Regions from separate parts of the Homo sapiens genome. Here regions 1, 2, 4, 5, 6 and 7 are each linked to region 3. The links are contacts of gene promoters, found by promoter capture Hi-C in blood cells and fetal thymus (Javierre and others, 2016). All regions are on one chromosome and are shown on one strand. Each heading gives the region's core, a stretch centred on a gene start or on the middle of the fragment in contact. The rest is flanking DNA. Distances are from core to core; before and after follow the strand shown.

Region 1 (2,700 bases), core at 64-2,563, 420 kb before region 3:
CCAGGGTGGCATAGGCAGGGGGAGGGGCTGTCAAGGCTGGAGAGGGAGCAGGGCCTGGCTGGGACAAGGACAGAGACATGGGGTGGGGGCAGAAGTGGGAAGGAGGGGAGGATGCCAGGGTGGAGGCTACCTCCTGAGCACCCCTGCCCCCTCGGCCTGGAGACCAGTATCGGCTTCGGAACCTTCGGAGCAGCATGAGGAACATGATGACCAGCAGGTCAAAGACGAGCTCAGCCATCTCCACCACAGACAACACCGAGGAGCCGAACCACAGGCTCCACTGGCTGCCCAGGTTGGACAGGAGGGTGACCATCTGTGAGAGGAGAGGTACATTGACGATGGGACAGAGGGTTCTGGATGGACTCTGGCAGAGGAGCCCCCTTCCCTCCTCACCAAGCTGTCTCCCTTCATCCCTGAAGACCCCCGAGTCCTCTCAGCCTCTCAGCAGCCCCCTGGGCTCTTTGTCTCTGCTCCTGGCCAGTGTCACCCAGAGAAAACTGATAACTGGCCCACAGTTAGGGGCAGCTGAAATGGGGGCATGGGTCAAGCGCCTTCACCCCAGCATCTAGCATGCCTGTCCCTCCCACCACCCCCAGAGACCTTATGCCCCGGCCGAGCTCCTTCTTCCAACCCTCCCAACCTCTCCCTTGACCCTCTTCTTTGGTCCCCTGCCTTTGAGACTCAGAGCCTTCTGGCCCACAGAGACAACCTTTTGGTTTTCCCCGACAGCCGCCCTGCTAAGTAAGACCCCCAGAGCATCACAGGCTCCATCCAGGCACGACCTACCGTGACAGAGGGAGACTCAGAATTGGTTTTGTAGTTCAGCTCCTTGAAGAAGATGTTGACTTTGGCCACTCCATTTCTTAGGTGTGGGGCAGAGGGTGGGAAGAAATGGTAGAGGATGAATTTCCTGGACCTTCCTCTAATCAACCATATCGATCCCTCTTCTTAGGTCTATTTTCCCTCCCAAAGATTCCCTTCTTGTGGCTGGGACCAGGGCAGGACTGACCTCTTGTTGTTGACGGTGTAATTGTTCTGTCGCGATAGCATCTGGAAGACCCATTCCTAGGAAAGAATGGGGGTGTCATCAAGGTCACTCCCATATGCTTCAGGCTTACAGGGATAGGGTTGTGTCAAACACACTCATACACATAATACCCAGAGAAGGCCACAGCATTACATGGGCACACACATCCCCCACCCATCCCTTCCCCACACTCTACCTGGGATGTCACCGAGGGCCATCGTGAGTAACCAGCAGAGAGCTGGTAGCTGGTCACGCTGGGGATGGAGAAAGGTGCTCAGTGTTGGGGCAGAGCTCTCCCAAATGCTTGGCTCGGTAACCTGTATTCTACCCAACCTGTACCCGGGGAAGGGGACACTAACCTGCATGGCTTCCGGCACTTGGTGAAACAGCCCAGGTGGTCTGAGGAGAAGTCAACCTGGAGCTTATAGTAGCAGTACCCTGTGGGTACAGAGAGATGCCTGTTCTCCTAGGGCACCTCAGCTTTCTCTACCCCACACCCAAGAGGTCTCCCAAGATCCCTGGGTACCCACTTTACAAGAGCATTATTTAGCATTATAATGATGCCTTATGAGTGGCAGTACCAAGAAGCGTTTAAGAAATTAAGCTAAGCCAGGGACAGTGGCTCAGCACTTTGGGAGGCCGAGGTGGGAGGGTCGTTTGAGGCCAGGAGTTCAAGGTTGCAAGTGAGCTATGAGTGTGCCTTTGTACTCCAACTCTGGCAACAGAGTGAGACCTTGTCTCTAAAAAAAAAAATTTTTAATAAATTAATTTTTTTTTTAGACGGAGTTTCGCTCTGTTGCCCACGCTAGAGTGCAGTGGCGCAATCTTGGCTCACTGCAAGCTCCGCCTCCCGGGTTCATACCATTCTCCTGCATCAGCCTCCGGAGTAGCTGGGACTACAGGCGCCCGCCACCACGCCCGGCTAATTTTTCGTATTTTTAGTAGAGATGGGGTTTCTCTGTGTTAGCCAAGATGGTCTCGATCTCCTGACCTCGTGATCTGCCCGCCTCGGCCTCCCAAAGTGCTGGGATTACAGGTGTGAGCGACCGCACCTGGCCTAAAAAATAAATTAATAAAGAAAGAAAATAAGCTAAGTCAGGCGAAAAACAAAACAGGATACACCAGTGTAAGGAAATATATGCTATGGACAAAAACATAAACGCCATAAAGAAAAATGGGAACAGGCCGGGCGTGGTGGCTCACGCCTGTAATCCCAGCACTTTGGGAGGCCGAGGCGGGTGGATCACGAGGTCAAGAGATCGAGACCATCCTGGCTAACACGGTGAAACCCCGTCTCTACTAAAAATACAAAAAATTAGCCGGGCGTGGTGGCGGGCGCCTGTAGTCCCAGCTACTCGGGAGGCTGAGGCAGGAGAATGGCGTGAACCCGGGAGGCGGAGCTTGCAGTGAGCCGAGATCGCGCCATTGCACACTCTAGCCTGGGCGACTGAGCGAGACTCCGTCTCAAAAAAAAAAAAAAAGAAAAGAAAAATGGGAACAATAATTGTATAAGAATAAGGGAATTAAGCCACAATAAGATACCACTTCACACCCATTAAGATGTGTGTTATTTAAAAAAAGACAATAGGCTGGGTGCGGTGGCTCACGCCTGTAATACCAACACTTTGGGAGGCTGAGGCAGGTGGATTACCTGAGGTCAGGAATTCGAGACC
Region 2 (2,700 bases), core at 88-2,587, 370 kb before region 3:
GGTAGGATTCCTAGGTATGGGGAAGAGTTTTGGAAGGGGAGGAAAATGGCAAGTGTATTTATATTGTAACCACATGCAAATAAAAAGAATGGGACCTAGATAATTTATTTTCTTGGGATTTATACAGAAACACTATTCCATGGAGACAATCTCAAAGACAAAGGTCAAGACACTAAAATATAATCCCATAAAGATATTTCAGTGAGGAGCTGGTGAGTATAGTCCAGGTAATAACAGTCTCGTCAGTGATGGCTGACAACGTGCCAGGCAGTGTTCTCAATGCTTTACAGTACTAACTTACTTAATCTTCACAATAACTCCCTAAGGTAGATATGATTCCCATTTAACAAATGAGGAAACTGAGGCACAGAGCGGTAACTTTCCCAATTCAGCTGCAAATGACAAAGCTGGGATTTGCACCTAGTTCGTCTGGCTTTTAGAGGCCTCTTGGGGAAAAAAAAGCCTTCATATACCACGCCCTTCCAGAATTTCTTTGAACGGGTAGAATGGTCTGGCCTTCTCAAATAATCAGATCTCTTGCATGTTCCGCAGGTGTTACTTTTCAGTCAACTCTCAAACATCTAGCCACACGCGAAGTGAAAAATGTTCTCCAAGGTTGATTGAAGGGAAATGTGTGCAATTTTTTTTTTTTTTTTTGAGACAGGATCTAATTCTGTCACTCAGGCTGTTGTGCAGTGGCACTATTATGGCTCATGGCAACCTTGAACTCCTGGCTCAAGGGATCCGCCCACCTCAGCCTCCCAAGTAGCTGGGGCTATAGGTGTGTGCCACGACGCCCAGCTAATTTTTTGTATTTTTAGTAGAGATCAGGTCTCCCTGTGTTGCCCAGGCTGGTCTCGAACTCCTGGGCTCAAGCAATCCTCCTGCCTTGGCCTCTGAACATGCAGTGATTACAGGCGTGAGAGCCACCGTGCCTGACCTGAGGTGTGCACTTTAGACATAAAATGAGAGAGGCCAAGTTCACATTTTGTTGGTGAACAGAAATCTAGGCTGGCCTCCTTTTGGTTCAGAAAGAGTATTTATGATTTTTACTTTTTTGGTTTCTTTTTGTCTTCTTTTATTTTTACCCCCAAAAAGGACTTTAAATCTTCTCAAGCCCTCTTATTAGTAAATGTTTGCCCCTCCCTGCCCCTGAATTCTCTCCTGTGCTCGGTCGAGAGGATCTTAGCTTGCAGGATTGTTAGGGAGCTGCTGCCAGCCGGCTGCTCCTTCCATAAAAGGCCACTCTCATGGGTCTGATATGAGGAACTCTGTCGCTGGAGCTCATCAGGGTGGGGCGGCTGCAAAACACACACCTCAGAAGGCGTCTGATCCAATGGAGTGGATGGGTCATTTAAGGTTGACTGTGAAAATATCACATCCAACTTCCTTTTTTGAAAAGTAAATAATGGTGAGCTGTATCTTTAAATAAAGTTAAATCCTCCTGCCCCTGCAATATGCTGGGGCCAGACCTCATGAATTCTTAATAATTGTTCTAATGTGTTTAGATAAAAAACAAATTTTATACATTTTTTTCAACAAAATAAAAGGAGGAAAATATTTTGAAAGAAATGATGCTGAAGCACAGCCCTTTGTGACACCATTCAAATTTATAATTATACCTGCCTGTATTTTTTTAGAGACAGGGTCTTACTGTGTCGCCCTGGCTTGAGTGCAGTGGTATAATCGTGGCTCATATAGCCTCAGCTCCTAGACTCAAATGATCTTCCTACCTCAGCCTCCCACGTAGCTAGAGCTACAGATGCGTGCCACCACACCTGGCTAATTTTTTTTTAATTTCTTTTTTAAGAAGTGGGGTCTTGCTATGTTGTCCAGGCTGGTCTCAAACTCCTGGGATCAAGTGATCCTCCCACCTCAGCCTCCCAAAGAGCTGAGATTGCAGGCATGAGCCACTGCACCTGGGCTGCCTAAATTAATTTTCTAGGGCCGCCATAACAAAGTACTGCAGACTCGATAGCTTAAGCTGCAGAGATTTATCTTCTCACAGCTCTGGAGGCTGGAAGTCAGAGGTCAACGTGTTGGCAAGGTTGGTGTCCTCTGAGGCCTCTGTCCTTGGCCTGCTAATGGTGGCCTTCCTGCCACCTATGTCTTCACATGGTCTTGCCTTTGTGCATGAGTGTGTCCTAATCTTCTCTTAGTGGATTAGGGCCCATCCTGATGACCTCATTTTAACTTAGTCACCTCTTTAAAGCCCCTGTCTCCAAATAAGGCCCCATTCTGAGGTCCTGGGAGTTAGGGCTTCAGCACGTGGATTTTGGAGGGAGACACAGTTCCACCCACAGCATTACCCATGTCTATTTTGCCAGTGTGGAGTCAGTACAGGCTCCAGGACACATCCACAGAGCACAGGCCACGTAGAGGGGAGCTCCTGTCTACAAGGAAAAGCTGGCAGAAAACCAACAAAGACAGCCTCTTGATGGTGGTCTTCAAAAGATGCAACAGGATGCAATGGCAGTTGACAATGGGGTAACTGTTGGTTGTGAGAACCCTAATCCTCTACCACAGGGAGGAGAAAGCTAACACCAAGTCCAACCCACATCAACACGGGGGTGGGACACCCGTTAGGGGGCCAAGGCTGTAGTCCAGAAGAAAGGTGGATGGAACTGGGGACAGAGCAGTAGCACAGGGAGATGGGGGAGGATGGGGTAATTCAGAATTTCCCTTTTTGAGAGTGGCATC
Region 3 (2,700 bases), core at 1-2,500:
AGCCTTCCACTCTGTCCACCTTCCTGACCTTTAATACACAACCCAGCCCCTGTTCCCTTCTGAAATCCCAAGCTTTTCAAAATGACTCAAAGATACCGAGATTGAGGGCGAGGAGCTGAGGATGTGTGGAATAGGGTGGGGCTGGAACTCCAGACCTGGACCTGTATTATATTTGCAAAGGAGGCAAATATAACCCAGAAAGGCTAGGGAAGATGGCAGCAGAGGAATGAGAAAAGCTGAAGGATGGAAAATGTAAAAAATGAGGACAGAAAGAGGAGTTGAGGAAAGCCAGCCAAGAATAGAGGGCCAGGTGCCTGACTCAGATAAGACAAGAGCAGGGTTGTCTGGGAAAGATAGGGAAAGAGACCAGAGGTGGAAGGGCAGAAGAGAGTCAGTGAGGAGTGGAGAAGAGGTGAGAGAAGAATGGGAGCGATTCGAGTTATAATTGGTTGTGAAGGAGGGGTCTAGGTACAGATGACTGAGGACGGATGAAGAGAAATAGAAGGACCAGGCGAATAAAAGTGAGGTGAGACGGGCGAATAAGAGAGGTAGAAGATGGAAGAGAGCTGGAAGACAGCAAAGGAGACCAGGGGGCCTGACTCCCCCCGGCTCACAGCACGGGGCCAGGAAGGGAGGCACCCGGCAAGGGTCACAAGTGTCAATCTGGCGGGACAGAAGGCTGGGCCGCCCTTTCTGCCCTCCCATCCCTCCTCAAGGCCATCCAGAGAATGTGGATGGAGGATGAGAGGGGGAAATCCGGCGTGGTGTGGAAGGAGCGCCCGAACCCTCTTCCTCTTCTTTAAGCTTTTGGTTTCTCAAATACCTGCCCTATCTTCCCATCTGCTCCCCTCACCCCACCCCTTGGCAAAATCCCAGGGCTTTTTTTGGGGTCAGTAGGATTCTGGCCACCTCTCCAGTCCGCCCCCAAAAGCCAGACTCCACATTCGCAGGCAGTAGGTTGGGATTTGGAAAGGTGCCTCCCCGCAGGAACCCCACCCCTTCCCACCTCCTCGCCCCACTCTTTCTCCGCGGCCGTCAGTCTCTCCATTTCCCCCTCCTGGTCTCGTCCTCCCTCCCGACTCCCTAGCTCTCCCTCCCCTCGCTTTCATCCTCCTATCCCCACCTCTCCAACCTCCTCTTTCATCCCCCTCCCCTCTCCTCTCCTCCCCGCTCCCGCCTGCCCCACCCCTGGGAAGCCCCTCCCGTCGGGCAGCGCCGCCTTATAAGCGGGTTCCCTTCCCGGGGGCGGCAGCGGCTGGTCGGCGGCAGCTCTGCTGGTGCGGGGGCGGCGAGCCCGGGATCGAGCTACCGCGGCCGAGCGCGCCGGCCACCGCCTGCACCGCCCTTCCGCCCGCCCTCCGGACGGCCGCAGCCCTGCGGGTCTCCGCTCCAGACCCACCCCCGCCCCACCCCGCGCGCCTCTGCCGCCTCTTCCAGAGACCCAGCTTGCCGAGCGGCCGCCGCTGCCGCTGTCGCCGCCGCCGCCGCCACCGCGCCAGGTTCCGGCCGCGGCCACCCTCCGCCGTCCAGGGCCCCTCCGTCTCGGCCCCGGGACCCCGGCTCCCCGCCAGCCCCGGCCCCGGCCCCGGCACCATGTCGGAGAAAAGCGTGGAGGCAGCGGCCGAGTTGAGCGCCAAGGTACGGGCGGGGGCGGCGGCGGCCCGGACCTCGCGCAGCCCTGGGGCCCGGCGCGGTCCTTCGCCCCAGGCCGCCCCCGACGGCCCCGCGCGGCCCTTGCGCCCGGGTCCTGGCGGACCCCACTGCGCCCTCCCACCGCTCCCCGGCCCGGAGCTCCTTTCCCGGCTCCGCGCGGCTAGCGCCAGCGCCCTCTAGCTGCCCTGCGCGCACCACGGCGCCCGGCCTCGCCGCTCCGGTCGCGCCGTCCCCCGCAGCCGTCCCCACCCCTCTTCGGCCCCACCTCGCTGACCGGATCCCGTCCGGCTTCCCGTCCGAACGCCCCGAGTCTCACTTTGCCGCGCCCCCTCCCTGCGCCCCGCTGCCGCGTCTTTGCTTGCAACCTGACCTCACCTTTCCTCGCTAAGCGGTTTGAGATCCTCAAGTGTAAACAGGACTCTCCCTGGAGGCTGCTCCTCCGGGCCCCTCCCCGCGGCCCGACCGTCGCTCGCTTCTCTCCCCGGACGGCGGCCGCCTCTGTTTTCTCGTTCCCTCCCCTCAGCTGGCTTTCAGCTTTCTTTTCTCTTCATCGTCCCCTTCCCGCATACACACTGAAAGAATCTCGAATTCCTAAAAATTAGAAGCGGGGCAGGACTAGCCTTCGAAAAAGCCGAGGCTGGGCATTGCATGGCATTGCGTCGAGCTGTCCTCGCCCTCATCAGCTCCCTTCCCCGGCCCCATCCGTTCGCCCTTGCCTCTCTTCCAGCCTTCCTCTAATTTCCCCAGGGAACCTGCGGAGTGTCGCTTTGGGAAATTAACGCGGCCGGGGTTTGGGGGCTGGGAGCCCTATCTTGTGTGTGTATGTGTATGGCGGGGGGGGGGGGCGCGGTGGTTGCTGAGGGGCCGTCACACAGGTCTCCCGGAGGCCCGCGGAGTGAAACGGGGGGAGCCAATGGGATTAACGGCGGTGGGAGAGGGGCTGTGTGCGATCTGCCAAGGTGCGCCCGTGTGGCCCTCCGGCGGGCTGTGCGGTGGCATGTGACTTCACTGAGTAGGTGTCTTTGTATGTCTGAAATCCAGCGAGTG
Region 4 (2,700 bases), core at 185-2,684, 390 kb after region 3:
TTAGAGTTGCATATAATTAGGGGGAGCCCCTGAGGGGCTTCCCAGGGTTTTCTGACTGAGGCCAGCTCCTCTGATGCCCCCAGGGATTCAGTCTGGCTTCCTCTCCTTGTGCAACGGCCACCACCTACACTGTCTCTTATTTTATTTTATTTTATTTTTCTGGGACTGGCTCCCTTCTTCCTTGCTGTCCCTGAAAACAACCGCAGAGGCTTTTGGGAGGGAGAGACAGGGTCTTGTTCTGTCGCCTAGGCTGGAGAGCAGTGGTAATCCTAGCTCACTGGAGCCTCGAACTCCTGAGCTCAAGCAATCCTCCTGCCTTAGCCCCCTGAGGAGCAGATGCATGCCACTATGCCTGGCTATTTTTAAGACTTTTTATAGAGACAAGGTCTCACTTTGTTGCTCAGGCTGGTCTTGAACTCCTAGGCTCAAGCGGTCATCCTGGCTCAGCTTCCCGGAGTGCTGGGATTACAGGTGTGAGCCGCCGCACTTGGACTTGCAGACGCCTTTTTCAGTGTTCTACTGTGATTCACTATAGCAAGTAGGTGGAAGTGAGGATTAGCGGGGAATATAAGGCATAACCAAGCTGCAAAGATTAGAGAAGTTTCACATAGTATTTAGTCAATAGAGACATGTTAGCAAGCTAAACCTATTTATTTCAAATAAACTCTTGAGGCCAGCTATAAATTTTTTTCCTTCTTGTGATTCCATAGCACTTTCTCCAGTTCTTTCATTGGGGATCATTCCACTCAATCTTTTCTGGTTGGATACTAGGTCCTGCTACTCTGATTAGGCTCAAGGTAGATAGGGGTGCTGCCTGGCCTGGTGAGATTCTCGATCCTTACTTTCTTTGGTATAAGGCCCCAGGTGAGAGACTTCTTGTTCTAGGAGCCCAGCACCTTCTCCCCTGAGTGTCCAGCTGCCCTGCATGGGCTGGTCTGGCGGGCAGCGTTTCTCACCCCTCAGCCCCTGGAGGAGTGTCTGTTCACGGCACCCTTTCACCTCCCCTCGGTGAAGCCCAGTCTCCCCATCCTTTGTTCTGAGCTCATGTCCAGGCTGATCAAGCTTCCCTCAGATTTCAGTTGAGAGCAGCAGTTTTCCTTTGCTTCTTCTCTTATTTTGACCTGAATAGGACACAGAGTTCGTAGCTTCCCTGAGGGCACTGGTGATTGGCATGCCTGAGCTGACAGGCCATTCACGGCATAAAACCCTTTCCATATGCCTTTTCTGACTCCGCAAGGTGCTCCCTCCCTTTCACCTACAAATCTCGAGTGGTGTTGCAGAACTGTGGTTTCACAATATCAAACCATTCTAAACATGCAGAAGCAGTGAGAGGTACGATCTCCTCCAGTGGCACGGAGGCCCATTGCTCTAAATCTCCTAAGTGCACTAGAGAAAGAGAGATGAATGTGAACTGGAACCAGGGTAAACTGGAACAGTCAGGGGAGATTTTGTGGCACATGTAGAGTTTGCATTTGGACCTGAACTGTAAAAGGGATTTTTGGATGGGTGTGAGAGAGAATGGGAATTTGAGAACCGGGGGTAGATAGGTGGTTAAGAGTGTTTATGGTTAGAGAGAATAAGGTTGGTTGAGAAGAGCAAGCCGGATGATGAGGGTATTATGTATCTACTCATATCAAATTTTGATGACTGCCAGAATCACCTGGGGAGCTTTAAAAACTCTCGGCACCTAAATTATACCCTAGAATGTCTAGGGGGTGGGAGCCACGTGTCAGTGGTTTTTAAAAATCCCATGTAATCTTTAAAAGTTTGGGAATAATTTTCCTCTTTTGTTTCCTACAAGTATCTGAAGCTTTGCAGAAAGAGTTACAAAGCAATAGGACAAAAAGAAAATGAATGAGGAAGTAAGGAGGAACAGGTAATGATGAAATAAGGATCCAATGAAGCCAGGGAATAAAGTCAGCTCATAACATGCGTACTATGAGATGCTATGCAGTTGCTACCACGGGCCAGAATTTTGACCCTGAGCTTCTTCAAAGCTAAAGCAAAAGGAAACCTGAGCAGTTCTGAGAGCCGTGATAGGAGCCAAACGCTATTTCATGAAAAGCCCTGGGAGTGCGGGGGGCAGAAAGAAATCTCTCCCAAGGCTCTTTGCAAAGAGAGCACCGTGTGGGGCCATGGACAGGGCTTTCCACTGTCCTCGCAATCCCATGGACCATTTGCTAAGTCACCCCTTAATGTTGGCTCTGGAGGTCATTCAAGGCCAGAATTAACTGCTCAGATCTCATGTAGCAAGAAAAGCTGAACGCACTTCTTAAATTCTTGATTTTTATCTGTAGCTGATTTAAAAATCCTCCCATCTCCCCGGGCTCCTGACTCATCTTAAACTAATTAACCAGACTTGTTTGCTTGTAGATAGAGTGTCTGCATTTTGTCTTTCCTGTGGTCATTTCTTATTGTCCTGGCAATCAACTTGTCATTTCCTTCATTAGGCCAGGAGCTCGGAGGGACACTGCATTGATTAGGGCGCAAACCAGCTTTAGCTCGTCATCGTTGTGTGCTTAGAGGAAGTTCACCTGCTTTGGCCTCCACTCTGAGGGTGGGGTCACCACCCCTTCTGGAGCCTGGGCTTAGCCACTGGGCCCATCTGCCAGTGAAGGCACTGCCCCTGGCTCTGGTCTGTTGACGTGGAGACCTGAGAGACACTATTTCCTGCAGATGGGCAGGAGAGACAGCTCTGTC
Region 5 (2,700 bases), core at 199-2,698, 320 kb before region 3:
CCACTGCCCCATGCCTGCAGTGAACACATTTACCACAACCTGGAAATGGCTGGTGACAGAAAAGTCCTCACGGCCACAACACTCTCTGCGGTGGGAATTCAGGTGCCTTGCCTGATGGTGACAAAGCTGGTTTTGCATAAACAGCTCTCTGAATCACACCCAAATGTGGCTTCTGACTTGAGTGGACCCCCATGAAGAGCTGCAGAGGGGGCTGGGAAAAGACAAGAGAATGGAGAAAATGAGGAGAAAGGAAACTACAGAGTGAGATAGAGAACAGATCTGACAGGTGTGACCACAGCAGTGTGACATTTATGAACAGTGTGGAAACAACGGCAAAGCCCCTAAATTAAAAACTTCCTGGGGAAATAAGCCACTCCACATATCGGTTGCTGAGGAAAGAGTGGAGGAGGCTGTTGACCCGTGTGTGTCCCCATGACTCAAAGAGGGAAAAGTCTAGCTGTTTCCAATATCCCGAAATCAGTCTTGCTGGGAGAACTGGGAAAATAAAAAAGAGATGACCCCCGTAGGAAGCTACCTTTAATCCCAAGTGCCCAAGGCTAGGAGAGAAGATGCTCCAGGCGATCCAGGACACCAGTGACTGACACAGCCAGAGGTGGGAAAGGGGAGGATAAAGATGGCACAAAAGTGAGGAGTGAGCAAGGGTCTGAGAGGGAAGGCCATGTGGGCAGTAGGTGGCACCCACATCAGAGACTGACATGAGGATTAAAGGAGAGCATAGGTGATCGGTCAGAGTGTGACAGAAGAGAGGCAGCTCTACACCCCTTGCTTGCAATTCTGAGCATTCTGTAGCAAACTCGTTTGGCCATCAAACCAGACCTCAATTGAGACAAGGCTATTTAAGCTTCCTCCCAGTTGGTGTAAATATTCAATAGTTTTGCTGCAGAAATGTTGCGTTTGATTATGAGACTACCCCAACTCCCCAAGGGTGTTTTGTGGTGCTGGTTTCTGTATAAACCTGAAAAATTCTGAATTCCAAAACTTATCTGACCCCCAAAGTTTCAGATAAGAGCTTGTGGACCTGTGCTCAATTCTGGTTCTCCTTCCTTCTTTCAACTGTTGTCTGTGAAAGGAGGGATGCAGGTATGGGAGACAGGAGTCCTGCGAATTCGTCTGTAAACTGTGGACGGGGGGGTGGGTGGGGGGGGGTAACGTGGGCACCTTTGTGCACAAGTGCATGAATAGGAGGGGTGAGCAACTGTGTGTCCATCACCTTTTTGTCAAAGAAGCAGGAGTCAGTGGGCTACGTGCTTCATGAGCAGGAGAGGCGGAAACTAAGGAAGGCTCATGTGTTGGAGGAAGCATGTTTGAAGAGCAGCAGGTCTCACAGAGTTTGCTCTTTAATACTCTCCCCAGCACACGGAAGGGGAAGGGGGTGGAGGTTGCTGCTATGAGAGAGAAAAAAAAAACAGCCACAATAGAGATTCTGCCTTCAAAGGTTGGCTTGCCACCTGAAGCAGCCACTGCCCAGGGGGTGCAAAGAAGAGACAGCAGCGCCCAGCTTGGAGGTGCTAACTCCAGAGGCCAGCATCAGCAACTGGGCACAGAAAGGAGCCGCCTGGGCAGGGACCATGGCACGGCCACATCCCTGGTGGCTGTGCGTTCTGGGGACCCTGGTGGGGCTCTCAGCTACTCCAGCCCCCAAGAGCTGCCCAGAGAGGCACTACTGGGCTCAGGGAAAGCTGTGCTGCCAGATGTGTGAGCCAGGTAAGAGGGGGCCTTGGTAAGGGCCAGGTGAGTGGCGAAAGAGAGAGGACTGGGGTTAATACAGTAAATAGGCGCAGGGTGAGACTGAGCTCAAGCAAGGAGGGAAATCCTGCAGCTGTGGGGAGGCACCACCTTGAAGAGGGCAGAGAACCAGCCCTTCTCAGGCCTTGATCCCTTACCCTCTCCTCCCAGGAACATTCCTCGTGAAGGACTGTGACCAGCATAGAAAGGCTGCTCAGTGTGATCCTTGCATACCGGGGGTCTCCTTCTCTCCTGACCACCACACCCGGCCCCACTGTGAGAGCTGTCGGCACTGTAACTCTGGTGAGGTGGGCAAGGGTGTGTAGGTGGGGACGATGGACAAGCATCTGGGGGAGCAAGGCTGGTGACGGGTTTGGGGGTGCAAGGAGGATGACGGGGCCAAAGCTTTGGCCTTCTTCAAGGCTCACAGCAAGTGGAGCCAATGCTGGGAAATGCGGCACCCTAGGTGGGGCATGAATTAACGTGGGCAGACATCTAGTATTCCAGGAAAGGGATAAATAGAATTTGAGGGATTGGTGAGAACGGGTCTATGGATAGGATCAAGACAATAAAATGAGAGAAGTGGCTCTATGACCCCAGATTTCGGGCAAGCAACCCCCAACCAATAAACTGACTGTGTTCCCAGAGTGCACATGTGCAGGTTGGCCATTGGGAATTTGGAATACATCTTTCTAAGGAAATAACAAAGCAACCCAATAGGTAACAACCTTTTTTTGCACAAAAGCCAATTTGAGAAAATGAGTATGTATGTAGCCTGTGTTTTTATTTTATAGTTCCAAAAAAAAAGGTTTTTTTTAAACTAAGAAGTATAATATCTGCAGTTGTGCTTATGAATGCTGTTATTATTTCTCCATCTTCGCTACAATTTCAGAAACTACGGCCAGTATACACTAGAATAGCAGGCTTTAAAGTGGCCCCTTTGAACAAATGTTC
Region 6 (2,700 bases), core at 175-2,674, 360 kb before region 3:
GGAATCTCCATCGCCCAGGCTGGAGTGCAGTGGTGCAGTCTTGGCTCACCGCCTCCTCCGCCTCCTGGGGTCAAGCAATTCTCTTGCTTCAGCCTCCCAAGTAGCTGGGATTACAGGCGTGTGCCAACACACTGGGCTAATTTTTGTATTTTTAGTAGAGACGGGGTTTCACCATGTTGGCCAGACTGGTCTTGAACTCCTGACCGCAAGTGATCCGCCCGCCTCGGCCTCCCAAAGTGCTGGGATTACAGGCAGGAGCCACCATGCCCGGCCCCATGTTGATTTCTTTCGTCAGTATTTTGTAGTTTTTAGCACACATATCTCCCACGTATTTTGTTATATTTATACCTAAAAACTTCATGGGGGCTGCTATTGTAAATGGTATTCTATAAACTACAGTACGTTGTTTCTTTGTATAGATCCAAGATTTTGATTATATTTCTTCTTCTTCTTTCTTTTTTGAGACGAAGTTTCACTCTGTTCAACCCAGGCTGACACAATCTCGGCTCCCTGCGACCTCCGCCTCCCGGGTTCAAGCAATTCTCCTGCCTCAGCCACTTGAGTAGCTGGGACTACAGGCGCCCACCACCACGCCCAGATAATTTTTGTGTTTTTAGTAGAGACAGGGTTTCACCATGTTGGCCAGGCTGGTCTCAAACTCCTGACCTCAAGTGATCACCCGCCTTGGCCCCCCAAAGTGCTGGGATTACAGGCGTGAGCCACCACACCCAGCCTCTTCTTCTTAGAGAACTTGCTTTGACATTTATTATAAAGTAGGTCTGCTGGCAATCAACTTCCTCAGTTTCTGTTTGTCTGATAAACTTTTAATTTTGGCCTGGTGTAGTTGCTAATGCTTGTAATCCCAGCATTTTGGGAGGCTGAGGTGGGAGGATCACTGGAGTCCAGGAGTTTCAGACCATCCTGGGAAACGTAGTGAGACCCCGTCTCTAAAAAAATAAAAATAAAAATAGAAAACTCTTAATTTGGGCCAGGCACAGTGGCTCACGCCTGTAATCCTAGCACTTTGGGAGGCCAAGGTTGGTGGATCACCTGAAGTCAGGAGTTTGAGACTAGCCTGGCCAACATGGCGAAAACCCGTCTCTACTAAAAATACAAAAATTAGCTGGGTATGATGGCAGGCACCTAGCTGAGGCAGGAGAATCACTTGAACCCGGGAGGCGGAGGTTGCAGTGAGCCAAGATCATGCCACTGCACTCCAGCCTGAGTGATGGAGCGAGACTCCATCTCAAAAAAAAAAAAAAAAAAGATATTACTCCATTTCATTTTGCTTTTATTGTTTCTGACTAGCAGTCTGCTGTAATTCTTATCCTCGCTCCTCGGTAAGATATTATGTTTTTTCCCCCTTGGCTGACTTCCAGATTTTCTTTCTCTTTGGTTTTCAGCAGTTTTAATATGATATGCCTAGATGCATGGGTTTGGTGAGGGGCTGTGTTGTTTTGGTATTTATCCTGCTTGGTGTTCTCTGAGCTTCCTTGATCTGTGCTTTTCTGTCTGTTACTAATTTTGGATAATTCTAAGCCATTATCTCTTCAAATGTTTCTCCTGTCTTATTCTTTTTGTTCGTTTGTTTGTTTGTTTAACTAAGTCTGATTAGACAAATCCTGTCCAAGTCTTTCTTCTCCTTCTGGAATTCCAATTATGGGCATGTTAACTCATTTGGTATTCTTGGATGGTGTCTTCTTTCTTTCTTTTTTGTTGTTGTTCTGTTTTGTTTTTTACCCACTCTTTTTTTGCACTTCAGTTTGGGTAATTCCTCTTTATTTTTTTGCAATTTTATAACTTTATTTGATGTATTTGACTATCAGCGATTAGTTCTCATCCACATTGACTGTCTGTAGATTTTTGAAAGTGGTAGCAAATACATAGGTAACCAAAGTATAGAGCTTATTTGTGAATCTTCATCCTCATTACGTTTTCTGGACAGCCGCACATGGATTCGGTGTCGGACATTCCTTATTCCTTTGGCCCAGACAGCTTTGTTGAGCCTGGTATCAATGCGCACATCTGGAGTTTCCATCTCCTTCATGGCAAATTTCCGAATCTCTTTGAGTGCCCGAGGGGCACGCTTCTTGAAGCCTACTCCACAAATGCGCTTGTGAATGTTGATGGTGTATTCTCGGGTCACCACTTCGTTGATGGCAGAACGGCCCTTTTTCTTCTCGCCACCCTTCTTTGTGGGAGCCATTCTGCCATGTCCAAGTTGGAAAGGGAGTTTGGGAAATTTCTATTGACCTCTACACCCAAGGTCACTGATTCTTTTCTCAGCTATACTGAGTCTACTGATGAACCAGTCAAAGGTGTTCTTCATTTCTGTCACCACGATTTTATTTCAAGCATTTCCATTTTATTCTTATGGTTTCCTCTGCTGAATTTATCCATCTTCTTTTGGCATGTTGTCTACCTTTTCCATTAAATCCTTTAACATAATCATGTTACTTTAAATTCCATGTCTGATGTCATATCTGAGTCTGGTTCTGATTTTTTTTTTTTGTCTTTTTAGATTGTGTCTTTTTCTTTTTTTTGAAACGGAGTATTGCTCTGTCACCCAGGTTGGAGTGCAGTGGCATGATCTCTGTTCATTGCAACCTCTGCTTCCTGGGTTCAAGCAATTCTCCTGCCTCAGCCTCCCCAGTAGCTGGGTTGACAGGCATGCGCTACCATGCCTAGCTAATTTTTGTA
Region 7 (2,700 bases), core at 172-2,671, 440 kb before region 3:
GGAGGAGGGAGAAATTGGTGACAGGAGGTTTATTGTACTAGTTTGGGTGTGAAACATGGAAGGTTTAGTGCCACAGCCTTAGGGAGACATTGCAAAAAGGGACAAAAAACAAAGGAGAAGAAAGGACCTAAAGAAGAGGGAAGAGGCCGGGCGCGGTGGCTCACGCCTGTAATCCCAGCACTTTGGGAGGCCGAGGCGGGCCGATCACGAGGTCAGGAGATTGAGACCACGGTGAAACCCCATCTCTACTAAAAAAGACAAAAAATTAGCCGGGCGCGGTGGCGGGCACCTGTAGTCCCAGCTACTCGGGAGGCTGAGGCAGGAGAATGGCGTGAACCCGGGAGGCGGAGCTTGCAGTGAGCCGAGATCGCGCCACTGCACTCCAGCCTGGGCGACAGAGCGAGACTCTGTCTTAAAAAAAAAAAAAAAAGAAGAGGGAAGAGAAGGGGGAGCCTTAGGGATACTTTGGTTAAAGTCTATACTGAATTCAGAAAAATCCAGGTTCAGACACCGGTCCTACCAGGTCCTAGCCATGTGACCTTGGGTAAGTTATATGACCTCCCTCAACTTCAATTTCGTCATCTGCAAAACAGATATACACAATGACTACCTGCTTCCTAGGGAGATTCAAAGCTGTCATTCGGCTTAGGCACACAGCCTGGGGCCAGCACTGGGCACAGGCTCAGGAACTCCAGATACCCAGCGGCAAAGAGCACAGTTGGCCTCCCGAAGCTTCAGTTTGGAACACTGCATTGGCAATGGGACCCCAGACAGAAATGCAGTCATTAGAAAGGGAAAGGGAAATGTGTTTGTTTAGTTATTGCTTCCTCAGTGAGGTGGCTTTACTGTAGGAATATTTAAACAGCAGCGCTTTGAAATTGAGGCAGCCAAGATATAACCTAGTGGAGATATCTTAGGGGCTTTGGGAACAAAAGAAACAGAAACAAAGACCTGGAATTCAAGTGAAAGAGGAGGACAAAAAACACACCCCAAGGGGAGGCAGGTGGGTTTTGTGATGACAGTGGTCTCCCATCTGCCCTGTCCCCTGCTTCCGGCTCGGTTCACTGTCCCCTCTGCATGGCAGGGACTTCTCTCCACCACTTCCACCTAAGCCTAAACACACTTTCCACTAGGCTGGACTGACTGGCAAGTGACATCATTCTGGTGGTTAATCAAATTTTCTTGGCCAGGCGTAGTGGCTCACCTCCTCTAATCCCAGCACTTTGAGAGGCTGAGGCAGGCAGATGGCTTGAGACCAGAAGTTCAAGACCCAGCCTGGCCAACATGGCAAAACCCCATCTTTACAAAAAATACAAAAATTAGCTGGGCCTGGTGGCGCATGCCTGTAGTCCCAGCTACTCGGGAGGCTGAGGTGGGAGGATCACTTGAACCCGGGAGATAGAGCCTGCGGTGAGCTATGTTCCCACCACTGCACTACAACCCAGACAACAGGGTGAGACCTTGTCTAAAAAAAAAAAAAGTTAAATAAAACATTTTCCTGAAGGCTAGAGGCTCAAGGGGGAGCCCAGGGACAAAAGCGCAAGCTAGTGGCATCGGTGTCCCTAGAGCCCCAACTCCCCAGGATAGCCAGTGGGGCTGGCAGTGAATGGCAGGCTGCCTTTTTTCCTTCGGAACTGCCACCTCCACCTTCAGAACTTTCTCCTCTTTTTTTTGGTTTTTAGTCACAGAACAACAGCCAGACTCTCACCTTCTCCCTTTCAGAATCCCAAGAGCTACTGAAAATTACGGGTATTTTACTATGCAAAACAACTCAGTCCCCTGGTAGTCTCACTCCAGGCTAACAGGAAAGATCTGTCAAGATCTATAACCAAGATATGCACCAAGGCTCCCTGGCCTTCCTTAGCAAAACAAAGAAAACTGAAACTTTGAAATGACTTTTCCTGCTATTGTCTCACACCAGATTATTAGGGAATCCTCTCTAGAGCCATCAGTCTTTATACACTGAAGAGGGCAGTAGAAACTCTGTTGGTCCCTTTCATAGAGCAATCCCCAGGGGGCAGACTATTGTTTTCTCACCCTGGCAGAAACGTTGACTTGCAGATTTATTCCTAGCGGGTCTAGCTGTGATGACTCACACTTTTAGAGAAAGTAAGCTTCTCCAGGGAGAAGAGACTGAATCTTGGGGAATGCCCAGGGACTGAGAAGAGGAAAAGGAACAGAGACAGGAACAGAAAGAGCCGTCAGAGATGGCGACCAAGAAATTAAAGCAGGGAGACTGAAGGAGGCAGCCGAGGCTAAGAGCCAGGGTCTGAAGGAGAGGCCCGAGCAGCTGTCAGGGAGTTACTTCACCTCTTGGGGAGTTGCAGTGCACGCAGGACAGACAGTCCGCAAGTGGCCAGGCACAAGGCCCAGCACTGTATGGGCACTCCATAAATGTTTGCCGTTGTCATCATTAGAAGAAAGGGGTGGTCTTTGGGGCCTGGGTAGGGCCTGCTGCTGACTGGGGAAACGCATCCGCATCTGTTGCTCAGGAAGTCAGTGGGCACGTTTCAGAGTTCGGTTTTAGTCCGGCACTGGGGAGTTCTGGGAGGAGAGTGGGTGAATCTAGGAGCCACCCCAGAGACAGCAGGGAAAGGAGGCATTTCCTCTCCATGGGTACAAAGGAAGAAGAATCCTGCTAGGGGCCCTCCCTTCCTCTTCTCAGTTTTGTAGGGGGGTCACATTCTGGCTTAAGCGCCA

What was found. Contacts are between HindIII fragments. The CHiCAGO score rates a contact against its expected background, and 5 or more counts as called.
Region 1: a fragment that was not itself captured here is called in contact with the fragment with the promoter of PTMS in region 3 in 1 of 17 cell types (naive CD8 T cells); the score reaches 5.6 in naive CD8 T cells.
Region 2: a fragment that was not itself captured here is called in contact with the fragment with the promoter of PTMS in region 3 in 2 of 17 cell types (total CD4 T cells and activated CD4 T cells); the score reaches 6.2 in total CD4 T cells.
Region 4: a fragment that was not itself captured here is called in contact with the fragment with the promoter of PTMS in region 3 in 1 of 17 cell types (total CD4 T cells); the score reaches 5.3 in total CD4 T cells.
Region 5: a contact is called between the fragment with the promoter of CD27 here and the fragment with the promoter of PTMS in region 3, in 4 of 17 cell types (naive CD8 T cells, total CD4 T cells, naive CD4 T cells and 1 more). The highest score is 5.7, in naive CD8 T cells.
Region 6: a fragment that was not itself captured here is called in contact with the fragment with the promoter of PTMS in region 3 in 1 of 17 cell types (naive CD8 T cells); the score reaches 6.0 in naive CD8 T cells.
Region 7: a fragment that was not itself captured here is called in contact with the fragment with the promoter of PTMS in region 3 in 7 of 17 cell types (activated CD4 T cells, naive CD4 T cells, non-activated CD4 T cells and 4 more); the score reaches 10.8 in activated CD4 T cells.

Annotation. Positions count from the first base shown.
Region 1 is chr12:6,347,941-6,350,640 of GRCh38, forward strand. SCNN1A (sodium channel epithelial 1 subunit alpha) reads right to left here. Exons shown (of 13, transcript NM_001038.6): 9 at 1,387-1,465; 10 at 1,224-1,281; 11 at 1,010-1,065; 12 at 787-862; 13 at 1-313. LOC107984500 (a long non-coding RNA gene) reads left to right here and starts at 241. Exons shown (of 4, transcript XR_007063191.1): 1 at 241-327. The HindIII fragment of the contact is 4,954 bases long and covers 1-2,700 here.
Region 2 is chr12:6,391,469-6,394,168 of GRCh38, forward strand. It overlaps LTBR (lymphotoxin beta receptor), which reads left to right. Exons shown (of 10, transcript NM_002342.3): 10 at 1-98. Among named protein-coding and RNA genes, the nearest start is that of LTBR, 8.7 kb to the left of the region's middle. RefSeq lists an enhancer at 1-5. The HindIII fragment of the contact is 2,950 bases long and covers 1-2,700 here.
Region 3 is chr12:6,765,113-6,767,812 of GRCh38, forward strand. It overlaps PTMS (parathymosin), which reads left to right and starts at 1,251. Exons shown (of 5, transcript NM_002824.6): 1 at 1,251-1,638. The coding sequence starts at 1,594. RefSeq lists silencers at 1,116-1,445, 1,556-2,055. The HindIII fragment of the contact is 8,838 bases long and covers 803-2,700 here.
Region 4 is chr12:7,152,952-7,155,651 of GRCh38, forward strand. All of the region lies in intron 16 of CLSTN3 (calsyntenin 3), which reads left to right. Among named protein-coding and RNA genes, the nearest start is that of CLSTN3, 24 kb to the left of the region's middle. The HindIII fragment of the contact is 748 bases long and covers 1,061-1,808 here.
Region 5 is chr12:6,443,507-6,446,206 of GRCh38, forward strand. It overlaps CD27 (CD27 molecule), which reads left to right and starts at 1,449. Exons shown (of 6, transcript NM_001242.5): 1 at 1,449-1,725; 2 at 1,918-2,049. The coding sequence starts at 1,590. It overlaps CD27-AS1 (CD27 antisense RNA 1), which reads right to left. Exons shown (of 6, transcript NR_015382.2): 5 at 40-211. RefSeq lists enhancers at 541-610, 631-680, 1,585-2,086, 1,631-1,690, 1,721-1,900 and 1 more. The HindIII fragment of the contact is 1,289 bases long and covers 861-2,149 here.
Region 6 is chr12:6,407,808-6,410,507 of GRCh38, forward strand. It overlaps the pseudogene RPL31P10. Among named protein-coding and RNA genes, the nearest start is that of LTBR, 25 kb to the left of the region's middle. The HindIII fragment of the contact is 9,699 bases long and covers 1-2,700 here.
Region 7 is chr12:6,321,413-6,324,112 of GRCh38, forward strand. All of the region lies in intron 13 of PLEKHG6 (pleckstrin homology and RhoGEF domain containing G6), which reads left to right. Among named protein-coding and RNA genes, the nearest start is that of PLEKHG6, 12 kb to the left of the region's middle. RefSeq lists enhancers at 1,520-2,061, 1,950-2,019, 2,070-2,159, 2,603-2,700. The HindIII fragment of the contact is 1,382 bases long and covers 731-2,112 here.